Linked DNA regions of Homo sapiens: regions 2 and 3 are each linked to region 1. The links are contacts of gene promoters, found by promoter capture Hi-C in blood cells and fetal thymus (Javierre and others, 2016). All regions are on one chromosome and are shown on one strand. Each heading gives the region's core, a stretch centred on a gene start or on the middle of the fragment in contact. The rest is flanking DNA. Distances are from core to core; before and after follow the strand shown. Region 1 holds the start of NFKB1 (nuclear factor kappa B subunit 1). Region 2 overlaps PPP3CA (protein phosphatase 3 catalytic subunit alpha). Region 3 overlaps PPP3CA (protein phosphatase 3 catalytic subunit alpha).

What was found. Contacts are between HindIII fragments. The CHiCAGO score rates a contact against its expected background, and 5 or more counts as called.
Region 2: a contact is called between a fragment that was not itself captured here and the fragment with the promoter of NFKB1 in region 1, in 1 of 17 cell types (M0 macrophages). The highest score is 7.4, in M0 macrophages.
Region 3: a fragment that was not itself captured here is called in contact with the fragment with the promoter of NFKB1 in region 1 in 1 of 17 cell types (naive CD8 T cells); the score reaches 5.4 in naive CD8 T cells.

Annotation. Positions count from the first base shown.
Region 1 is chr4:102,499,133-102,503,561 of GRCh38, forward strand. It overlaps NFKB1 (nuclear factor kappa B subunit 1), which reads left to right and starts at 2,227. Exons shown (of 24, transcript NM_003998.4): 1 at 2,227-2,656. NFKB1-AS1 (NFKB1 antisense RNA 1) reads right to left here and starts at 3,354. Exons shown (of 5, transcript NR_136202.1): 1 at 3,307-3,354. RefSeq lists silencers at 1,907-2,166, 2,177-2,746 and an enhancer at 2,857-2,906. The HindIII fragment of the contact is 5,238 bases long and covers 1,286-4,429 here.
Region 2 is chr4:101,281,194-101,285,622 of GRCh38, forward strand. The region is part of intron 1 of PPP3CA (protein phosphatase 3 catalytic subunit alpha); the gene reads right to left. Among named protein-coding and RNA genes, the nearest start is that of MIR8066, 43 kb to the left of the region's middle. The HindIII fragment of the contact is 1,663 bases long and covers 1,515-3,177 here.
Region 3 is chr4:101,340,777-101,345,205 of GRCh38, forward strand. The region is part of intron 1 of PPP3CA (protein phosphatase 3 catalytic subunit alpha); the gene reads right to left. Among named protein-coding and RNA genes, the nearest start is that of PPP3CA, 4.5 kb to the right of the region's middle. The HindIII fragment of the contact is 3,623 bases long and covers 475-4,097 here.

The sequences.
Region 1 (4,429 bases), core at 977-3,476:
CCAATGACTGGTGTCTTCATAAAAGAAAGGTGAGGGAGAGTTGAATATAGCGACACAAAGGAAACACGGGGAAGGAGACCATGTGACAATGTAGGCACAGAATGGAGTGTTGCAGCCAAGCCAAGAATGGCAAGGATTGCTGGAGCTACCAGAAGCTAGGAGGAGGCAAAGGATTCTTCCCTAGAGCCTTCAGAGGGATCATGGCCTTAATGGCACCTTGAGTTCAGAATTTTAGGCTCCAGGACTGTGACAGAATAAATTCCCGTTGTAAGCTGTTCAGTCGGTGGTAAATTTTTACAGCAGCCCCAGGAAAATATGCCTGCTCAACACCCTACCCTGAATTTTAAGTTCATTTTATGGAATCATTTTGAGTTTGGAGTTTGATTTAATCCTTTTCAGTAATTAACGCTCTTCATTTTTTACTCCCAAATATGTCACACTGGCTCTACTCTTATAACAATTGTATTTATCTATCTTTTGGTAATGGGGCTGCCACCCCTTGCAGAATGAAAAGTAGAGTGTGTATGCTCACACCTCCCTCCCTCCCTCCCTCTCTCCCTCCCTCTCTCTTTCTTTCTTTCTCAGAGTATCGCTCTGTCTCGCCCAGGCTGGAGTGCAGTGGCGCAATCTTGGCTCACTGCAACCTCTGCCTCCAGGGTTCAAGCGATTCTCCTGCCTCAGCCTCTGGAGTAGCTGGGATTACAGGCGCCCGCCACCACGCCCGGCTAATTTTTTTGTATTGTTAGTAGAGATGGGGTTTCACCATATTGGTCAGGCTGGTCTCAAACTCCTGACCTCAGGGGATCCACCCGCCTTGGCCTCCCAAAGTGCTGGGATTACAGGTGTGAGCCACCGCACCCGGCTCACAGAATTTCTTAAAAAGTCATTGTGTTCAGTCTTTATGGATCCTCTAAATTCCAGCTGCTCAGCCTCCCGGAGCTAAATGAGATCACTTAAAGGTCGACTGTTGGGGCCTCCAAGGTCGCCTCGGAGACTCACCTCATAGGCAATCAAATGGATCGCTGGGTTTTTGTGTGTGTGGGTTTTTTTTGTTTATTTTTTTTTTCCAGAAAAACACTCCACCAAGAAGGTTTTTATAACCTACTGGAGGAGGAGGATGGAGAGTGGGCACGAAAGGACTAGGATGAACATGCCATAAGCAATCTAAATGCCACTGCAATATTGCCTGGTGAGGACCTGATTACTGATGTTTTAAAGCTAAGCTTTCAGTTGTCACTCCACCCAGTAGTGAAACAATGAGCTCTAAAATATATATTTCGGCTCAAGCTTTCTTATGTGGGGAGGTAATCCACCCGAAGGTATCCCCAGCCTGTACCTAATACAGTGCCCAGCACTAAAGCAGCTCAGATGCCAGTGAATGGTGGCCACTGGGAGGCCTGTCAGTGGGTGCCAGTAGCGGTCTCTTCAGAGAAAAAGAAAACTCCCCTCTGCCAGATCAGTATTTTATGAGCTGTGAACCAAAACCATTGCTACCACCATCACTATAATTCTATCCACAGTAATTATCATAAAGGCCTAACAATGCCTTGTAGATGAACATTCTGAGTAACTGCTCTATAACCAGGAGATTTAAGACCGCACCAAAAACCAGTAGAGGGTTATACTTTACTGGGCACAAGTCGTTTATGATAACGAAATTGTAGTTTAATCTGTGAAGAGATGTGAATGTAACTGAGACACGCTTAAATGGAATATACAGATGAGCTTTATTTTTATATCTGGCATGCTTGGATCCATGCCGACCCTCCAGCTGCTCGGGCCTGCCCTTAGGGGCTATGGACCGCATGACTCTATCAGCGGCACTGCCACCGCCGCCGCCTCCGTGCTGCCTGCGTTCCCCGACCATTGATTGGGCCCGGCAGGCGCTTCCTGGGGGCTTCCCTACCGGCTCCAGCCCTTGGGATTCGGGAGCGCCCTGCTAGGAAGCCAGAGCCCCGCAGGGGCCGCGGCGTCCAGGCCGCCTAACGCGCGCCCCTCGCCCGGCGCCCCGAAGCGGCCCCGAGGGGCGGGAGCCGAGGCGAGCGGCAAGGCCGGGCCGGGGGCGCACAGCGCCCCTAGAAGTGCGGGCTTCCCCCACCCCCGGCAGCGACCCTACCTCCCGCCCCCGCTGCGTGCGCGCGTGTGTCCGTCTGTCTGTATGCTCTCTCGACGTCAGTGGGAATTTCCAGCCAGGAAGTGAGAGAGTGAGCGAGACAGAAAGAGAGAGAAGTGCACCAGCGAGCCGGGGCAGGAAGAGGAGGTTTCGCCACCGGAGCGGCCCGGCGACGCGCTGACAGCTTCCCCTGCCCTTCCCGTCGGTCGGGCCGCCAGCCGCCGCAGCCCTCGGCCTGCACGCAGCCACCGGCCCCGCTCCCGGAGCCCAGCGCCGCCGAGGCCGCAGCCGCCCGGCCAGTAAGGCGGCGCCGCCGCCCGGCCACCGCGCGCCCTGCGCTTCCCTCCGCCCGCGCTGCGGCCATGGCGCGGCGCTGACTGGCCTGGCCCGGCCCCGCCGCGCTCCCGCTCGCCCCGACCCGCACTCGGGCCCGCCCGGGCTCCGGCCTGCCGCCGCCTCTTCCTTCTCCAGCCGGCAGGCCCGCGCCGCTTAGGAGGGAGAGCCCACCCGCGCCAGGAGGCCGAACGCGGACTCGCCACCCGGGTAAGCCAAACTCGGGCGAGTGGGGGCCCGGCAGGGGACGCGTGGCCCAAGTCCTGCCGCCCAGCCCTCCGCACCCCCTCCAGCCCCACTCGGACTTCCTCATTCCTGCGCTAACCGCTGGGCTAGACCGTGGGAGGAGGTTGACAGTAGCTGAGAGGCACATGGGATTAGCGACAGCGGGGAAAGACACATCCGGACCTCGCAGGGGCTAGTCGGCCGAAGGGCCGCGGCCGCCCGGCGGTCATTTCTCTTCACGTCCCTCCGCGGGGCGGGAACGCGAACCGGAGGGGAACTCTTACAAACTTTTAAAATCCCCAACCCCAGCCCCACCTGGGGGATGGTGAGAAGGTTGGAGTGCGCTGCGGCGCGGAGGAGAGAGGGAAGGTGGTTGGTGCAGTGCAGAACCAGATTTCACCTAAGGGCGTTCCATGAAATGAAAGCAGAAGTGCTTGTCAGTCCTCTTGGCTGGGAAAGCCCTCCCCAGCTCCCCAGAATTGAATAGGAGAGTCTATTCATCCCTCTCCTACTTCTAAAAGAAACCTGGCTCGCTCTCTGTCTCTCTCTCTCTCCCCCCTCCCCCCCTCCGTGCGCGCGCGCGCGCGCACACACACACACACACACACACACACACACACACACGATATAGTCACCTGCTATAGGACTTGATTCTGATCCTCCGGGGCCTGGCATTTGAGAGAGAAAATAAATTACCTACCTGGATACTTAGAGCACTTTTTAGACTTGATTATGTAAAACTCTTGGACAGTGCCACCATGCATTATGCATGACCGCTGAAACAAAAATAATGTAAAAACAAGGCCTATCCTAAATGCAAGTTTTTCTATGGTCCTTAAAAACAGACACCAGGGAATGTTTGCCCTGACTTGCTGGTTTATCCTGAAACTCAAATGGGACTTAATGATACAGGATTTAATTATCAAGATTGACATGTTCATGGACTTTGTTAAGTAGAGGTTTTCAGCATTACAGTTTATGAAATAACCATATTTAACTCAAAGATTTTTTTATAAAGCTCATAATCTGAAAAAATGCTTATGGTATTACTAAAACATTTAATAGCTCTGGCATCAAAATATTCTACATACTGGTGATCTTTTAGTAAATAGTAAAGGTTAGGGTCAAGATATTCAATAATTTTTTTCTAGCAGAATCCCACAACTGAATATTGTCAAGCAGTTTAAACTGCATTCGTGTTTGTTAAAACTTTAAAAGGGAAACTTAAAACTAAAGTATGTTGTTTTTCTGATTTTAATATTGTGCTTTCTAGAGATGAATCCTTTTACTGTTTGAGGCACTATAGGAATTATGTATTTAAATGTATGTATTTAAATTTGAAGCAATGTACTTTTTTGAGTTTATAAACTTGGGAAGACAGGAAATAAAAAGATTTGTTTCCTGTAGAATTTTACATTCATGATTTAATTGAATTGCTAAAATGGAAAGAACATGTACGATTAATGGAGACTTGGAATCTGAGATTATTCATCCATATTGATACACCTGCAATTCCTAAATGCCCTCCCCTGCTTGTTTAGATAAAATGTCTTCCTGGGCTGCAGCCTACTGGACAAACTTGAACACAAAGGAACACACGTTATATGTACATTTAATACTGGAACCGAAAAGCTGCTTGCAGTGAAAAGCAAACCACTTCTAAACTCTTTGAGACTTTTTAAAGAAGGTAGTATAATCCTTTTAGGGGTTGGTGGTGATGTGAAAATCTATTATCTTTTTGCTGAAATTTCATTCTTA
Region 2 (4,429 bases), core at 1,096-3,595, 1.2 Mb before region 1:
CTTTGGAGAGGGTTCAAGGAAGAATGGGAGAAGAGCAATTTGAGACAGTGAACGTACATAATTCTTTTGGAGAGTTTTGCTCTGAAGAGAAATGCAGCAGTAGCTGGATAAGAACATGGGCTCAGGAGAAGCTTTATTATTTCAAGACAGTAAAAACTATGGCATCTTCTGCTAATGAGTATGATCCAACAAAGAATAGAAAATGCTGATGCAGAAAAGAGGACTTCCTGGGGCAATGCTCTTAAATACGTAAGAGGGGGTGAGATCCAGTAAAGAAGCCTTGGCTCTTCTTTGGTCTAAGTGAAATTTAATGTGTATGGATTATAATATAATTTGATTTGTATAAAAAGTTAATATAATTGAGTTGGCTATGAATGAGAATGTATCAAAAAAATTTGCCACAACTTTCTGAAAGTCTTAAGTTATTTAGGCTATGCTACAGATGGTTTTTAAGTCAATCAAATGTAATAAGAAAGTGGTTAAACATTCAGCATCCAACTCAACTAAGTCAATCGAATGTAATAAGAAAGTGGTTAAACAGCATTCAACTCAAGTAAGAAAACAAACTAGGTTCTTCCATAATTTCATTTTAATTTTATATAGTGAAAAAAGCATCCTCCCTAAATTAATCAAAATGCTTGTCTACATATAACAAAGACAGACTTGCTAGTTATTGAGGGTCTTTTTCCTGTACTAGTTGCCAAATGACAAACCTGGGGAGGAAAACAGAAGAATCTGCATTCAACATACATTCAGTTAGACCTCAGGGGGCCTATAAATACACATTCATGGAGCTTTCCATATCTACAAAAATTGATATTTGATATCCCTCCACCCCATACCTTTTCCTGGGAAAAGCTAGTCCAGAAAATGAGAATATATTATCTTCGCATCTATGGCAAGTTTGAAAGTGACTTGCAGTTATTCTATATGAGCTTAGATAATCCACTACCAAAATCATTTTAAATCTGGCTTAACTGCTAAGGCCAATTTTGAGTAGAAGTGTTTTTGACAGTCAAAGCCTTGATAACCACTTCACACCTACCTAGAGGCCCCTGCAACCAAGAGCTAAGTGGCAACAGAAAAAAACTACAGTTTTTCTATCCTATCTGTGAAAACCAGAAGAATGACAAAGGTGATTAGATGAGTGAAATGTGATGGACAGACCTCACTACAATTCATGTTAGATACAGGTCCAGACCTCTTCCCAGAAGATTGCTTTAAGTTGGTAAGACATGGACTTACCTGATAGGTCCTGAATTCCACTGGCCTGTTCTAAATGACAGCGCAGTCAGCATATTCCCTGGATTGGACTGATCTCAGGGCTTCTAGTCCTGGCTTCCTGTGTCAAGGTAGTGTTTGACTCACACTCATTCTGGGTTCTTCCCCATTTCTTCTTTGGTCTATTCACTTGTTGATTTTGCAACCCAAATAATACTATTGTCAATAGATGTCCAAAGACTGGGGTAGAATTAATTTAACATAATGCATGTGGCTGCTTAAACACCCTAGCAAGCTTCCCTTCCTGAGCCTGCTGAGATGCAGGAAGTAAAGCAAGGCTCCCACCCACCTCGCACCACAGAAACATGGCTGATTTACACAGAGGAGGAAAACCTGTTTCCGGGGCAGTCCCCAACATATTTAGCATGGACTTTTAAAACAGCTCATCCAACTCTAATTTGAAATCTAACTTTGATAAAATAAGCAGCCATTTTAAGTAAATGCCTTTCTTTTCTATCTATCCTTCACTTATCTGGGTCAAGTATTATTTGGTTCATATGTATTAAATAATAAGAGTTAATTTTATAGGTTCACATAATACAATTAACACATTCTCAATCAAAGCTCTTTCTTCATGTTTTAAAAATGTAAAACAAAACAAAAAACCCTTCAAAATCAAAACCTGCACTACTCAGTTTTCTCACAAATTATTAGTATTACCACTTTACAGGAAAATAAAAATTTACGGGAAAGCGTCAAATTTCAAAAAGATGGTTTTCAAACACTTGGTTTTAACATGTAGCTGGTCAACAACATAGGTTCAGATTAAAGCAAGTATCTATCCCTAATGTGGCAAATAATTTCGTGACTTGAAATAGCAAAACATCTAAGCCTTGGTATCAATACTCTCTGTAACAAGAGAGCATTGTCTAGCATGGCTCATATTGTTGCTTTTGGCTATAATGTTCTTTGATTTCCTTCTACACAATGTTATAAATCATTAGTCTCTCAGGTTAGTAAAAGTTTACTCAACATAGAGTGGTATTTTTAATTAGCAATAAAAAAGGTAAATAAGTCAGGTGCAATACAAGTAAATTAACAAAATAAGAGTATTTTAAAGTTAGAAAAATCAGTGCTTGCAGGGAAAAACATATTTCTCTTAAGTAATGTGGCAAACCGCTCTTAAGACTGCTGCCTGGCTCCACTTCCTCCTTCCCTGGGAACTGTCAGCACTCTGGCAGGTACGCAATCATTCTGCAACCCAACCTACAGTTGATTGATTTGGAGGGTAGACACCAAACTCATGTAAAGACAATCAGATTTTCTCTCCCTGGAAGATGCCATTGTTATCTGATAAATCCAGGTTGGGTACCACTAATAACTAAGTCATGGTATGACTCTGAAGAACACACCACTACTGCTTCCAAAGCAGTTCTTAGTTCCTAAGGCCACCCTGGTTTCTTCCTATTCTTCTCAAGACCGACGTTTCGGTTACTCCCAGGATTCCTTTAAATCTTAAAAGTTTACATTTAAATTAATTAAAACTAAATAAAATGTAAAATCGAGTCTTGTAGTTGAACTAGACATATTTCAAGTGCTAAATAGTCACATATGACTATTGACTACCATGCTGGATAGCTCAGATTCTCTAAACATTTTCCTCATCACAGAAAGTTCTACTGGACAATGATCCCCCAGAACCTTCTAATAAATTTCCTCTTTTCGTAAACTGCTAGAATCAGGGTTTGTTTTATGTGTCTTTGGTTATTGTTTGCTTTATATTTGTATCCATAAGCGTAATCAGGAAGTATAACGGTAACTTTCTGGAAATCTTGTATAGGATTTCTAGCCAATTTCAAGGGTTTCAAGTCTTGGAGTTAACGTTACTTCAAAACTTAAAAGTTTACTCACATGACTCCTGGACACCTCCTGGGTCACAGAATCATGGAATTTAAAAGCTTGGAAAAAACCTTAGGATATATCTAATTCAATTTTCTGGTTTTTTACACATGAAGACATTAACACCCACAAAGCTTGTAACTTGCTTTTGTTTCTGAACAGTACTTAAATTTGGCTTAACAGATTATTTAACACAAGATAAAAAAGATACCAACTAAAAATGTAATATAAAACATAATTCTGCAAATCTCATGATTACACAAGTAACAAAGCATGAAGTTTAAATATTTATTTACTCACTAAGCTGTTACTACACCAACTCCTTCCTACTCCCCACCCCCATGTCTTTTTTTTTTCCCCTTATTTATTTTGTAAGGTGCATTTCCCGTGGTTACCATTGTTTTCAATGTCATAGTTACCCATATCTAAAAGGCACAGAAAACATTCTGTACTTTCAAATCTGGGAGCAACTACATTTTTTGTTTTAATTTTTATTTTTCACTAGAACCTTTATGTTCAAATATTCCACATGATTAGTCATCTGTACAGATTGGAATCTGGATAGCTGAAGATGTTTTTATTCAGTTGCTTTTAAACAAATAGTAACCAAACATCATTTAAAATATGGGGATTAAAATGTCATACTTATTCATCAATAGATGTCAACTTGCTAAAGCAAGTTCTTTTGGCATCTTCTTAAGAAACGTATTGTTTCTAACAACAGCAAGAAAACCACACAAACACAAACCCAAATACTGATGGGAGACAAGGATTCTCTATCTTGTCTCCCTCTATCTGTACTCACTGTCTCACACCTCAATGCACTAAAATCTGTAACGTCCACACAGCACCGAGATTTTACAGGTTTCTTTCAGGTAAATATAGAATTCAAAATTCATGCAATATTAATTTTGACATAAAGGATTATGTTTAAATAATTATTATCCTTAACTTGCTTTCCTTTAATCATATCTTATCAAGTAGTAGAAGAGGAGATTATGGCCTCCCAACCATCCCTTCCATTAAAGATAAATTGCTTATACTTTCCCTGCTAAATAGATTTACATCTAATATCACTAATCTGTAAATAAATGGAATACAAGATTTATAACCCCTGTACATATCAAATCACTTGATACATGTTTTTGTACGGCTTAAAGAGTTCCCCCTTCTTATATCACATTGCACAAGCCGGTGTCCCACATCATCTGAAACAAAGAGATACATTTCAAAGAATTAATTGATACTAATTCCTTTCCCTTCCCTTTCAAATGCCACTGTGTGTATGTGTGTGTGTGTGTGTGTGTGT
Region 3 (4,429 bases), core at 1,036-3,535, 1.2 Mb before region 1:
TATTTTCACCTGAGCCTGCTCTAGAAATTAACAAAATCATCAAATCTGAAGATTTTGTTTGTCAAACCAGAGCATCAGTGTGGGTCATTAAGTGGAGTTCAGAAAAACAGGCTTAAGACAACATCCTTCAAAATGAAAGTAAATAACATTCTTTTGCAGGAGAGTATACTATTCTATTTCTGTGTATATATTTACCTGAACAGAAAGCAATGTTTAACAGTATTTCTTTATAAACCTCAGGCCAAGGTCAGACTAAATTATAATATTTATCACCAGAATTTGATGTCTGCTAAAAACAGAAATATAAAAAGCTTCCTCTCCTAATCAAACTATTTTACATAGTTAATTATTTAGTAAAACAAAATGCGAAATGAAATGTGAAGATATCTTAAATATACCAAAAGAAGTGGCCATTTTCTTTTTTTCTTTTTCTTTTTTTTTTTTTTAAGAGATATGGTCTTGCTATGTTGCCCAAGCTTCCACCTCAGCATCCCAAAGTGCTAGGATTATAGGTGTGAGCCACCACACCTGGCCAGTGGCAATTTTCAAAAATGTTTTCAAGCAAGAAAAGCCTCTTTAATAAAGAAAATAATGTGTTTACACTTACCTGTAACCATTCTATCTATTCTGTCTCCACTTCTTTAACTATAAAAATAAATGTCATCATAAGCTACTCTTGACCCAAGGCACTCATGGCTTTCAATGCTAATGGTTCTGACTATTCTCAGGTGACCAGAAAATACATAACACGTGTCATTTCTAATTCTGTGTTAGCAGTGACTGAATCGCCATTACCAGGCAGTGGACAAAGTGTTAACCACACACTCCCCATTTCCCATTTGATTATCCTTCGGTCCTCACAAGTTGACAGTGGATACAATTACTCCCCTTTTATGTATAGAGAAAGTTAGCCTGTGAAGTTATAACATATACCAGTGGAATTACAGAAAGCTGAAGTTCAAGGTCTCACCATATCCCTCTTGTATATCAAGAGACTGCTACATCAGAAAGTTGCTGGAAAAAAATTGACAAAATGATTTTTAGTAATTATCAAAATTCTATATCATGAATCACCACCATTCTTCATAGTTCTAGAAGTATTCAAAATGGTAATTTAACCATATTTGCTAAAAGGAGAGTGAGTATCTGCAAAAATGCTGTTTTCCAATGAGGTCACCCTAAATGGATTCTTTATTTGGTGTCATAATTAGTTTCAAATTTACACATAGCTGACACAAAAAAAGATAAGGAAAAGCATGAGAGGCCAATTACAAAAGTTATAAATGAATGGTCTATCAAAATTATATTTCATCTCGCTAAAATTACAAATAAAACAAAGAGACAAATAGATTTTAAAAGGCATATTTTTAAACAAATCTTAGAGTAAACCTCATTAATTAGATTCTAGATGTTAATTTTTTCCTATTTTAACTGGATGTCTTAAGATAAACTGTCCATTTAAAATAAGGGTTCTATCCCACACTTCTCAGAAAAACTATTATCTTCAAAATGTTGATTATTCTAATTGATGGCATTTTAGAATCACTGGAATTCCCCTGAATCCCAGTCTCAATTGTTGCATTAATCATTAAATTTACTGAATGTTTTTACAACAATGCACTTGTGTTATATTCACTTTATAATAGTCCCAAAAGGAAATGTTAATAAATAGACCAACCTAACTCGTAACGAACAGGATGAATTTGCATACTGTTCACTAAGTATTGAAAAGAATTTGTTCTCTTGGTATATTAACAATGCTGGAACTATGTTGTTTATACTTTTTGGTTATCGGACCCCTTTCTTCACATCCAATGCTGATGTAAACTTCAGCCAACAAACACTGGTGTTTTTTCACAATAAATTTAAATTCATGATATTGAATTAATAAAGTTTCACTATACTCAAATTGAAAACCAGATACATGAAACTCAACTGATGGTAACAAAATGTCAGTAAAATAAATTCACAAGCTCTTCCTGGAACACCACAAATAAATGACATTATTTACTACTCTGTTGCATCAAGGTCTAAACACGACAGTTACTACGAATGTGACATATTTGTTTTCTTTTTAAGTAGTATTATCAGTCTCACCCAGCTAGAAATACTAGTGGCTGGAATCCTTATTTACTTAATAATACTTAACTAGCATCTTCTTGCTTCTATGATCTTAGCATCTTTCAGAATTCTCCTATGTGTACTCTGTCTACATGAAGTACGTAAGCTGGCAATACACCTGAAAAACAGCTCATTCTCTATGGCCAAAAGCAACCTTACACAAAGCACAACAACGCATTATCTATAGTTTCTGAGAGATTCCACAAAACTCTTCTCAGAAATTTATCCCTCAACAGCCTCCCATAGTTTCTAAAATTTCTACCATTACCATCGGTTTGAGTTAAGGTAGAAGTCCCATCACAAAATACTTGGAGATGGGAACAGAGGGAAGGTAGGTTAAGAGATTTAACAAAGCCAAATACTCATTATCACATAGGGTTTAATTTCCTCTAAGTATTTTTAACTATCACATAGCAAAGTTCCATGACCAATAGGGAATGCTAGGGCCAGACAAAGCATTCTAGGCAGGAACAGAGAGAAATGAAGAAAAGCCAAAGTTTGAGACAAGGCCTGTAGAGTATCACTAAGAGAAAAATCAGGACGGGGGTCAAGGGGAGGAAGACAGTTATTCTTCTATTTATTGCCCTCGGTTTGCTGTATGTATCTTTAAAAATATAATGTAAAGCAATAAACGGACCATATTATTTTGATTTCCAGCAAAGGTCATTACCAAGATGTTTTCTCTGAATTTTTCTACTTTCCATTGTTTTAATCCAAGAAGAGTCAAAATGATACAGCACTAGTTTTGCTAACTGAAGTAACTTTCTCTCCTGGGATAATCTAAACAAATACTTTTCATCTCCACTGCCATCATTCTCTTTCATTTTTAAGGTTTAGAAAACCGATCAGGGTCTCTGAATACATGCTAGCAGATTCTATAAACCTCAAAAATAACATAGTTGAGACAGACTCAACCTACGTCTCTAAAGCTGCATTCTAAAAGTACAATTAAGAAAACAGTCACATCATATTACTACAAACCACAAGCACATCTTTATTTGTAAATAGCAATTTCTTATACAACAAAAGCCAGATGACACTAATAAATATAACTGTAAGCAAATGCCATGGCATGCCATGGTAATAACAATCTGAATATTTATTTTTGTATGTATATATAGTAAATAATACTACACATACTTCGTAAAAAAGAGAAAACTTATGGAGCACAAATACTTCCTCAAAGATAATTTCTTTTCTGTATTAAAGAATGAGTTAAATAGCCATTGAGATGAAGTTCTAACAAAATTTCAAGTAAATAATGGTTTCTAAACTCCATATTATCTAATTTTTGCAAATTAAATCACTTGTTAATATGTTTCACATCCAGCATACGCGTACTTTCCATTCATTCAGTACGTGTATACATACTCAAGGGGAAATATTATTTCACAGAAAGCTAATAATCAAAATAGATTATCTCAAATAACTAATAATAAAAATCTTATGTATGACAAAAGGTTGAATCCAACCTTGTATAATGCCTTTCATGCCAATAATATTCTACAAGAAAACAGGATAAACAATAACAGTGTATCCACCTTAAAATCAGGATTCATCAACAAAACTTCTATAAACAAAATTTCACATTTCACATCTCACATCAGGATCTCTATCAAAACAAATGCAAAATTAACTTTTCCTATTTTGAGTCTACTATCCACATAGTATGTGAATAAAATTTTTTAAATTATGGGTGAGTGTGTGTACCTAAAATGAAAAGTCATTTATAATGGTACAGTATTGAAAAAAAGCAAGGCAAAGTAGCCTTGGAATGGTTGAGTGGGCTCTTCCATTTTAAGCAGTAGAGAAACTAAGCCAGAAAGTATAAACATTTATTTTTACATGTTCACCTGATGACTTTACACCTACATTAAGAATCCACATCCTATGATTTAAAACAGGGAATGTGACCTTATGTGTGCACAAGTGTTTTTTTAATTGCCAACACGTTCACTAGTATCATTTGAATTATAAGCTTTACATTGTTTTGATCTTAACCTAGATTGGAGCTACATCTAAACTTCACACATTAAGGAGATAATTGTCATTCTCTGATATTTCTGCAAAGGGTCTCAATTTTTGAAAATGTCAACAGAAGCCTTTCATGCAAAACACAGCTCTCTCAAATAAATGTGAATGGACTGTTTCCATGAAAATCCATGCCTGCAGGAAAAATAAAATAGCTGTGCATCTCTCTGCAGCCCTATTTCGAATCATTTTTGCAGAGCTATTTCCTCATTATTTTCATGGGTATATGAATCCTGCACCGAAGCTGAAGCAGGAATGATTCCAGTAAAACCAAAAC